Linked DNA regions of Homo sapiens: region 1 is linked to region 2. Evidence: promoter capture Hi-C in 16 types of primary human blood cells and fetal thymus (Javierre and others, 2016). All regions are on one chromosome and are shown on one strand. The core of a region is centred on a gene start or on the middle of the fragment in contact, and the rest is flanking DNA. Distances in the headings are between cores, read along the strand shown. Region 1 overlaps MEI1 (meiotic double-stranded break formation protein 1). Region 2 holds the start of NFAM1 (NFAT activating protein with ITAM motif 1).

Evidence for each region. Contacts are between HindIII fragments. The CHiCAGO score rates a contact against its expected background, and 5 or more counts as called.
Region 1: a contact is called between a fragment that was not itself captured here and the fragment with the promoter of NFAM1 in region 2, in 6 of 17 cell types (activated CD4 T cells, total CD4 T cells, non-activated CD4 T cells and 3 more). The highest score is 8.1, in activated CD4 T cells.

What each region holds. Positions count from the first base shown.
Region 1 is chr22:41,739,647-41,743,676 of GRCh38, forward strand. It overlaps MEI1 (meiotic double-stranded break formation protein 1), which reads left to right. Exons shown (of 31, transcript NM_152513.4): 12 at 3,434-3,548. Among named protein-coding and RNA genes, the nearest start is that of MEI1, 42 kb to the left of the region's middle. The HindIII fragment of the contact is 2,151 bases long and covers 1,557-3,707 here.
Region 2 is chr22:42,430,275-42,434,700 of GRCh38, forward strand. It overlaps NFAM1 (NFAT activating protein with ITAM motif 1), which reads right to left and starts at 2,129. Exons shown (of 6, transcript NM_145912.8): 1 at 1,963-2,129. The coding sequence starts at 2,083. The HindIII fragment of the contact is 8,354 bases long and covers 1-2,756 here.

The sequences.
Region 1 (4,030 bases), core at 1,382-3,881, 690 kb before region 2:
CATGAATTCTAGAGTGGGAGGGATGAGTAAACCAACAAGGTAACAAAAGCATAAGTAAGAGCAATGTCAATCAGAGGCATCTATGCTGAGCTGGAAGTCTTCCAGCAGGACACTGCTAGAGGGGACCAGTAGTGCCTTTTGGGCAGGAAGTGGTATTTCAGTTGTACTATGAAGGGTGAGAGTTAGATTTGTGGAAGGACCTGGATTAGCAAAACATTTGGGTTCGAGAGTATAGAGATTGCTCAGGGTGCAGTAGCCAGTTGACCAGCAGGTTACATGAAGCGGGTGTTGCCTGGAGAAGCAGGAAAGCTGTTGGGTCAGAATTGTGGAGAGAGATGGATAGGGGGCAGGTTATTAAGCCTTGGATTATTTTACTTTTTTTTTGGTGGGGGGGGTGGAGTCTCGCTCTGTTGCTCAGGCTGGAGTTCAGTGGCTCGATCTCGGTTCACCACAACCTCCACCTCCCAGGTTCAAACGATTCTCCTGCCTTAGCCTCGCGAGTAGCTGGGACTACAGGTGCCCGCCACCACGCCTGGATACTTCTTGTATTTTTAGTAGAGATGCGTTTTCACCATATTGGCCAGGCTGGTATCGAATTCCTGACCTTGTGATCTGCCTGCCTCAGCCTCCCAAAGTGCTGGGATTATAGGCGTGATCCACCGCGCCCGGCCAAAGATGATTTTACTTTTGACTTTAACTTCCCAGAATGTTTACTGACGTGGTCCCTCTGAGGTGGGGTGGTTCAGAGTGTCTTTGGAAAGCACAACTAGAAGGAAGAATGAAGAGTGAGAGCTGCTAAAAAGAATTTAAAGAGGCCGGGTATAGTGGCTCACACCTGTAATCCCAGCACTTTGGGAGGCTGAGGCTGGAGGATCGCTTCAGCTCAGGAATTTGAGACTAGCCTGGATAACCTGAGGAAACGCTATCTCTACAAAAATTATCCAAGCTTGGTGTATGCCTGTAGTCCCGGCTACTCAAGAGGCTGAGGCAGGAAGATTGCTTGAGCCCAGGAGATTGAGGCTGCTGTGAGTTGTGTTTGTGCCACTGCACTCCAGCCTGGGCAGCAGAGCGAGACCCTGTCTCAAAAACAAAAACAAAAACAAAAACAAACCCAAGAATTTAAAGGTGGTGGAACTAGGGCTTGATGATCGTGTAGGATCGTCAAACTTGGAGCTTCCAGAGATGAAGAAGGAAAGGGGAAATCAAGCCGTAACCATATGCAGTTGACTGAGAACCTGTTAGAAGGCCCAACAGATGGCTCTCAGTGCTCAACAAAGGCTCAGGGATGAGGGTCTTGCTCTGTCACCAGGCTGGAGTGCTGTGATGTGATCTTGGCTCGCTGCAACCTCCAACTCCCTGGTTCAAGCGATTCTCCTGCCTCAGCCTGCCGAGTAGCTGGGATTACAGGCACGCGCCACCATGCCCAGCTAAATTTTGTATTTTTAGTAGAGACAGGGTTTCATATCATAATGTTTTAAGAAAGTTTACAAATTTGTGTCAGGCTGCATTCAAAGTTGTCCTGGGCTGCATGCGGCCTGTGGGCTGTGGGTGGGACAAGCTTGCTTTAGAGGGGACATGGCCCTGACGACACCTCAATTTCAGATTTCTAGCCTCCAGAACTGTGAGAGGATAAACTTCTGTTGTTTTAAGCCACACAGTTTGTGGTAATTTATTATAGCAGCCCTAAGAAACCAATACCCTGTGAAATAGTCATTCATTCATTTGACATCTGTTCTATTAATCATCAACTTACAATGCATCTGTCTCTGTTTAGGTAAAGTGAAAAGATGGAACTGGTCCCTTTCCTCTTGGAAACTCACAATTAAACTAGTCAATGACTGTTGGCTCTTCTGAGTCTATAGAATCTGAGGGTTCAAATGGGCCTTAGGTGTTACCTGTCTACATTTACCCCACACTCATAATGATTGAATCTCCAAAAGTACTTTTCCAGTCTCTGCGTATAGTCTCATAGAATGGGGAATCACTTCTCCCTAGAGATGGTCCCCAATACTTCTATAGACTTTGACTCAGAAAATTCTCAGGCTGATGCTGGGCGTGGTGGCTCACGCTTGTAATTCCAGCACTTTGAGAGGCTGAGGCGGCAGATCATGAGGTCAAGAAACCCCGTCTCTACTAAAAATACAAAAATTAACTGGGTGTGGTGGCGTGCGCCTGTAGTCCCAGCTACTTGGGAGGCTGAGGCAGGAGAATCACTTAAACCCGGGAGGCAGAGGTTGCAGTGAGCTTAGATTGCGCCACTGTACCCCAGCCTGGTGACAGAGCGAGACTCCATCTCAAAAAAAAAAAAAAAAAAGAGAAAAGAAAGTTCTCAGGCTGGGTGCAGTGGCTCATGCCTGTAATCCCACACTTTGGGAAGCTGTGGTGGGTGGATAACTTGAGGTCAGGAGTTTGAAACCAGCCTGGCCAACATGGTGAAATCTCATCTCTACTAAAAGTACAAAACTTAGCTGGGTGTAGTGGTGTGCGCCTGTAGTCCCAGTTACTCAGGTGGCTGAGGCAGGAGAATTGCTTGGATCTGGGAGATGGAGGTTGCAGGGAGCCAAGATCACACCACTGCACTCCAGCCTGGGTGACAGAGTGAGACTCCATCTCTGGATCTTAGTAACATTTACCTGTTGATCCTGGTTTTCCTCGTTGAGTTAACAAAGTTTGATCCCTCTTCCCCAGAAGAGCTTATTACTTATTGGAAAACAGTAGCTGTCACTCTCTTGATGCACGTTCAATTCTAGGTAGTGCTTCTTTTACCAGCAGGCTCTCCTCTGCGAGAAAACCTTGTATCCTTAATAGTAATAATAGACACAGCTGACATTTATAAGGACTTATTACGTATTAAGCATCATGCTAAGTGTTTGGCATACATTATCGAATTTGATCCCCATAATAAGTCTATGAGGAGAGTACTATTAGCCTCATTTAATAGATGAGGAAATTGATGGTTAGAGAGGGCAAGGAATGTACAAGAAGTTGTGCAGTTAGATAAGCATTGAAGTAAGGATTTTTTTGAGACAAAGTCTTGTTCTGTCACCCAGGCTGGATTGCAGTAGTATGATCACGGCTCACTGCAGCTTCTACCTTCTTGGGCTCAGGTGATCCTCCCACCTCTGCCTCTTGAGTAACTGAAATCACAGGTGTATGCCACCACACTTGGCTAATTTTTGTGGAGACTGGGTTTCACCATGTTGCCCAGGCTGGTCTCCATCTCCTGGACTCAAGACATCTACTCATCTCAGTCTCCCAAAGTGCTGGAATTAACAGGCGTGAGCCACCATTCCTGGCCTGGAGTAAGGATTTTTATCAGATTAGATTCCATGTTCTGATCCAACTGCACTGCCTCTCATTGCCTGAGAACCTGGGGTTATCTTGGGAATACCGTTGCCTTACCGTGAACCTGCTTTTGTCTCTCTGGATGCAGGAAGGACCATCAGAGCACTCCACCTGTGCAGTATGGGGAACTGCAGGCTTTGCTAGAAGCCATGCTAAACCGATGTGCGGAGTTTTCCCAGACCTTGCTGAGCAGGAGGCCCCTGGTCAGTGTACTGCAGCCTGCTGCTTCCGAAGATCATGCTGCAGTGTGTTTTTAGAAAGATAATTAGTATATTCCCTTACTTTTGTATGCTATTTCATGACTTTTTCTCATGCACACATGGCTACAATGAGATGCTTTTTCCCTAATAGCAGAACTATGAAGCTTAAGGATTACTATTGTCATTTTTACAGATGGGGAAACTAAAGCCACGAGGGTTAAATAATTTTTCTCTAAGGTCCAAAACTATAAAGTACCTAAGCCTAGAACAGTAAATTCCAGGGTGTTTTTACCCCAGTCTATTACACACATTCTCTGTTTATATCATATAAGCAGATAGGGTAAACATGCTCACAAAATTATTTAAGTCTGAATTCACTAGAATCTTAGAATCTGACCAATGTGCCATGTGTTGTAGCTGCTGGCTTTTAATAGCCTGTAGACTTAAGATATCAGGAAAGACACTGTCAGTGTGAATGTTGATTA
Region 2 (4,426 bases), core at 879-3,378:
ACAGGACGGGCACAGTGGCTCACGCCTGTAATCCCAGCACTTTGGGAGGCTGAGGCGGGCAGATCACCTGCGGTCAGGAGTTCAAGACCAGCCTGGCCAACATGGCAAAACTCTGTCTCTACTAAAAATACAAAAATTAGCTGGGCATGGTGGTGGGCACCTGTAGTGCCAGCTACTCGTGAGGCTGAGGCAGGAGAATCACTTGAACCCAGGAGGCAGAGGTTGCCGTGAACCAAGATGGCGCCATTGCACTTCAGCCTGAGTGACAAGAGTGAAACTCTCAAAAAAAAAAAAAAAAAAAAAAATCATGGGTGGGGGTTTGTCTGCTGCTCCAAGGGACTCTAGGACACCGTAAGGGTGTTTTCACCTCTTGTGAAAGAACAGTTTCTCTTTTATGTAATGTTTGTTGCAATACCGGGTGGGAGGGGGTGGCACTGGGAATGTTTTGTTATAGTTGAGACTGTTACAAAAGAGCTTTTCCCCAGTAGCACCCCATAAAACCTCTTACTGCTCGGTTACCAGGGTGTGCTGGGTGTCTTTTGGGGAGGAGGAACCACACAAAGGGAAAGGATGGGAATTGGGGGGAAATTAAATTAAAAATGACTGTAGTTGAGACACATTGACACTAACAGGCTGCATTTCCGGGGTCTGGCCGTGTTTGCACCAACTGTCTGGGGTGTGGGGCGAGGCGTGCACAGGATTAAAGGAGATGGTGTCCTAGGGCTCTGGGCTGCAGCCTGGGGAGGTACACACAGGTCAGCCTTTGCCTCCCCAGGGTAAGTTTCCGGTGAAGAACATTCTTTACAAGTAAGAGGATCCTCTGAGCCTACTGGCCGAGGGGCCCAGCTTGGGGCTGAGGCTGGCCTGGGGCTGAGGCTGGCCTCTACTTACCGGCTAGGTCTTGAGCAAACGAACTGGCTTCCCTGGGCCTCCTTTTCCCTGTCCTTAAAATGGTGCAGGTGAGGACAATAGGAGCCCCAAGGGGTGCTGTGAGGGTGGCCAGTACGTGCCCTGCTAAGGGCTCCATAAAGCCTAATTTGTGGTCATGAGAGGGGGTGCAGCAGGACAGGGTGGGGGCAGCTCTTGAAAGCCCCATAAACTAAGAGAATAGAAAGGAAGGCACCCTGTCTCCACAGTGGAGGCCACCCCTTTGGCCAGAGGGAGGGTTGGCTGCTGCCCGGCCAAGGAGGGGCAGAGAGAATCTGGCAGAATTCACTGAGCCCTCGTGCTGGCAGCCCTGGAATGGGACCCTCCTGGGCCGTCCCTGGCCTGATGAACTGGCCCTGAGGCTACCTACCCCACAGCTTGGCTCGGATCCCGGCCACCCAGCTTCCAAGAAAGCCTGGAACCAGGAAAGGAGCGCCGCTGGCGTGGAAAGACACACTTGCATCCTAAAACACTTGGCCTCTGGTTGTGTTTCAGGAACTGGGAGGTGAGACCCTTTCTGGTGACTGACAGTTTTGTGCCTCTGGGCGCAGAGCCCTGTGGCTGGCCCTGGTATCCCCCCCTCCCCCCTCTCCCCGCTCTCCCTGGCCAATGCCAGCAACAACCCAGAGGGTAGCCCCACCACTTGCCAGGTTCAACGCAGTGTCCCCCGCAGCAGCCACGTGAGGTTCCTCGGATGGGGAGCTGTCCCTCCCCCCTGCCCCGCCCCTGGCCCCAGCCACACAGCGCCCACCCTCCTTGTTTAAGGGCCAGGAGGCCAGACTGCTGGGGCAAAGCTGTCACAGCAGCGAGGGAGAGAGCGCTGTCCCCCTCCCCTTCAAAAGCCACCTTGGCAAGGCATTAGCTAAACATCTTCTCGGTCCCAGAAGGCTTCCCCTGTGAAGTCTGCAGCGTTCAAACGACAACCAGCAAATCCCCAGAGACAGGTCCCTGGGAATTAGCTGCGCCGGGCGGGATGAAAGCCGCTCTGATGTTCTGGAGCGAGAGAGTAGAGAGAAGGAGGAAGACAGACACTACCTGCCAGTCGCAGGGTCCCGGGCAGCAGCAGCACGCCAAGGAGGAGCCAGGGGGCTGCGGGGAGCCCAGGAGGGCGTGGGAGGCCTGGCAGGGCCCGCCACCTCACAGGCTGGTTCTCCATCTGGGGGCCTGCTTGTCTGCGGCGACTCTTTAGTTCACAGGAGGGGACGGCCGGCGCTGACAGCTTCCCCTTTGCTTTCCCCACGAAGCTCCTCCCTGGCAGCCCCTGACCTTCCGCTCAGAAGCAAAGCTGGAACAGCCCAGCAGGGTGGCCGCCAGATGAGGAACCTGGCACTGAGACTGGTCCAGGCCACACAACCAGAAGAAGAGCTGGAGACGGGACCCAAGCCTCCCCACTCCAACCCCTGGTGGGCTTCACCCTGTCTCGGCCCCTTTCCAGCAGGGGCCCCGTCCAGGAGACACTGGTAACTGTGCAGAGGGATCATGGGATTTCCATGAGTGACTTCGGGCCTTGGTTTAGCCTCTCACTTCTGAAACACTTTTAAAACGACCACAAGCATGTTCACACAAACTTCTCTAAAATATTCTGAGAATCCCTTAATAATGTGTTTACCAAAGGTAGGTTTTTTGGTGAGGGGTGGTAGGGAGGCTGGGGTGAAGGGCAGGAGCCTCATGTTCCCAGCCCTAGAGAGGGCCAAACACCCAGGGCAGGTGAAAGGCAGGCTGCCCATCATTCACCCAGCGAGAACCTCTGTGGGTCCCCTGCAGAGGCCCAGGAGACGCCTCCTCTCTGGTCCATCTCTAACGTCAGCTCCTCCCTGTGGCTGCCCTAAAGCTTAGCTCACTCGGCCTCCCAACTGTGAGACCCTCGAACTGCTTCCCCATTGGCTGCAGGTCACAGCCCCTGCTCTCACTTCTAGCAGCATCAGCCGGGGACAGGAATTGTTTGCTGCCGGGACCCCCTTCCCCAGCAGACTGGGAGCCCCTCACCCTTGGCACCCACACATCTGCCTGCGTGTCTGGAGTGGCAGAGGAAAGGGGCTGGGGTGTGGTGATGGCTGGTGGAGCTGGAGGCACCTGGTACATGGAAGACGCAGGCGGGAAGGTGGCTGAGTTTCAGCGCATGCTGAGCGCTTACCTCCCTTCTCTGCAGGTGTCCCTTCACTCACCAGATAAATGTGATGATCCCAGTTGTACAAAAGAGAAGACCTCGGCCCCAGGAGGCAAAACAACATGCCTAGGATCAGGGCAGGTCTGTGGGGCGGGCATTTGAACTGCCAGTGGTATGATGTCCGAGCCTTCTCCCACCCTGCTACTGCCTGCTCAGGTGTGTCCAGCTGCAGCCCCCGGTGACGGCATCATGAGATCCATTTCAGTTCTTTGCACACATGCTTTTCCCTGGGCTGCTCCAAACATGAACAGTGAAAGCCTAAAGACGTTTCCACCAATGCCACGAGCACTGGGAGGCTGGCAAGAGCAGGGGCCGCCCACCAGGGGAGGAAGACATATGAACAGGAGAAGTTTCCTACCGCGCAGGGGGCAGGCGGGGACCCCAGTGTTATTGACTGTTGATCCATCACAGTGATACATGCTCACATATGTCACAGTGAGATGCAGACCCGCTGCTTCACGCTATTCCTGGCTCCTGGGAGTAGCAGGTTGTCTAAGCACCTTGATGCCATGGTGATAGACCTCGTGTCAATGCCTCAGGGTACACGGGGAGCATTGGAAAAGCATCGGTCTGTGCCTCTACAAGTCTCATTACGACTTGGCACTGGGAGGCAGCTGAATGCCAAACTGCCTCGGAACAAGGGAGCCTGCTCTTCCAGCCCTGGTGCCGCCTCCGCTCCTGCCCCTGTGCCAGCTCACTGACCCTACCTCTCAGCCTGTCACGGTGCCCCCCACACCCCAACTCTGTACCTCGGACTCCCGGGAGTTCTGCCGCCTCTGAGTCTGGGTCTAGCCTGCTGCACACCTGGTTTCCACGCTTGCCTGCCTGAGCTGCCTGTCTTCCTCCCCTCTCCTTCTTGAGCCTGGCCCAGGGGGTGCAGGAATGGACGGATGGGTGAGCATAAGGCAGGGAGAAGCCTTCCTCCAGGCTTGATATGAAGGCAGGTGCCCAACACCACGCTGGTGCACAAGAGGCCTCAAGGGAAGGGGTAGCCTCTGGGAGGCAGGGTGGGAGGAGGCGTGCATACTCCCCAGGCAGGCCCTGGGCTGTGGAGCGCAGACATGACTGGACAAGAAGCAGCTGAGGGTCCCAGCTCATTGCCCAGTTTCTGAGACGCTCTGCAGCCACGCAGCCTCCTGGGGAGAGGCAGGGACGCACCTTGGCAAGGAGCCCAGCAGCCCTGGCTGCGCTGTCGGGGCCTCGTGTCTGGCCCTGATCCTCCTCGGGAGCCAGGGGGATAGAAATAAAACCGCAGCGCATCCAGGAGCCTCATTTCTACCAAAACTTTCTAGCACCTCTCATGTGCTTCCTCTCCTGTGCCCTCAGCCAGAG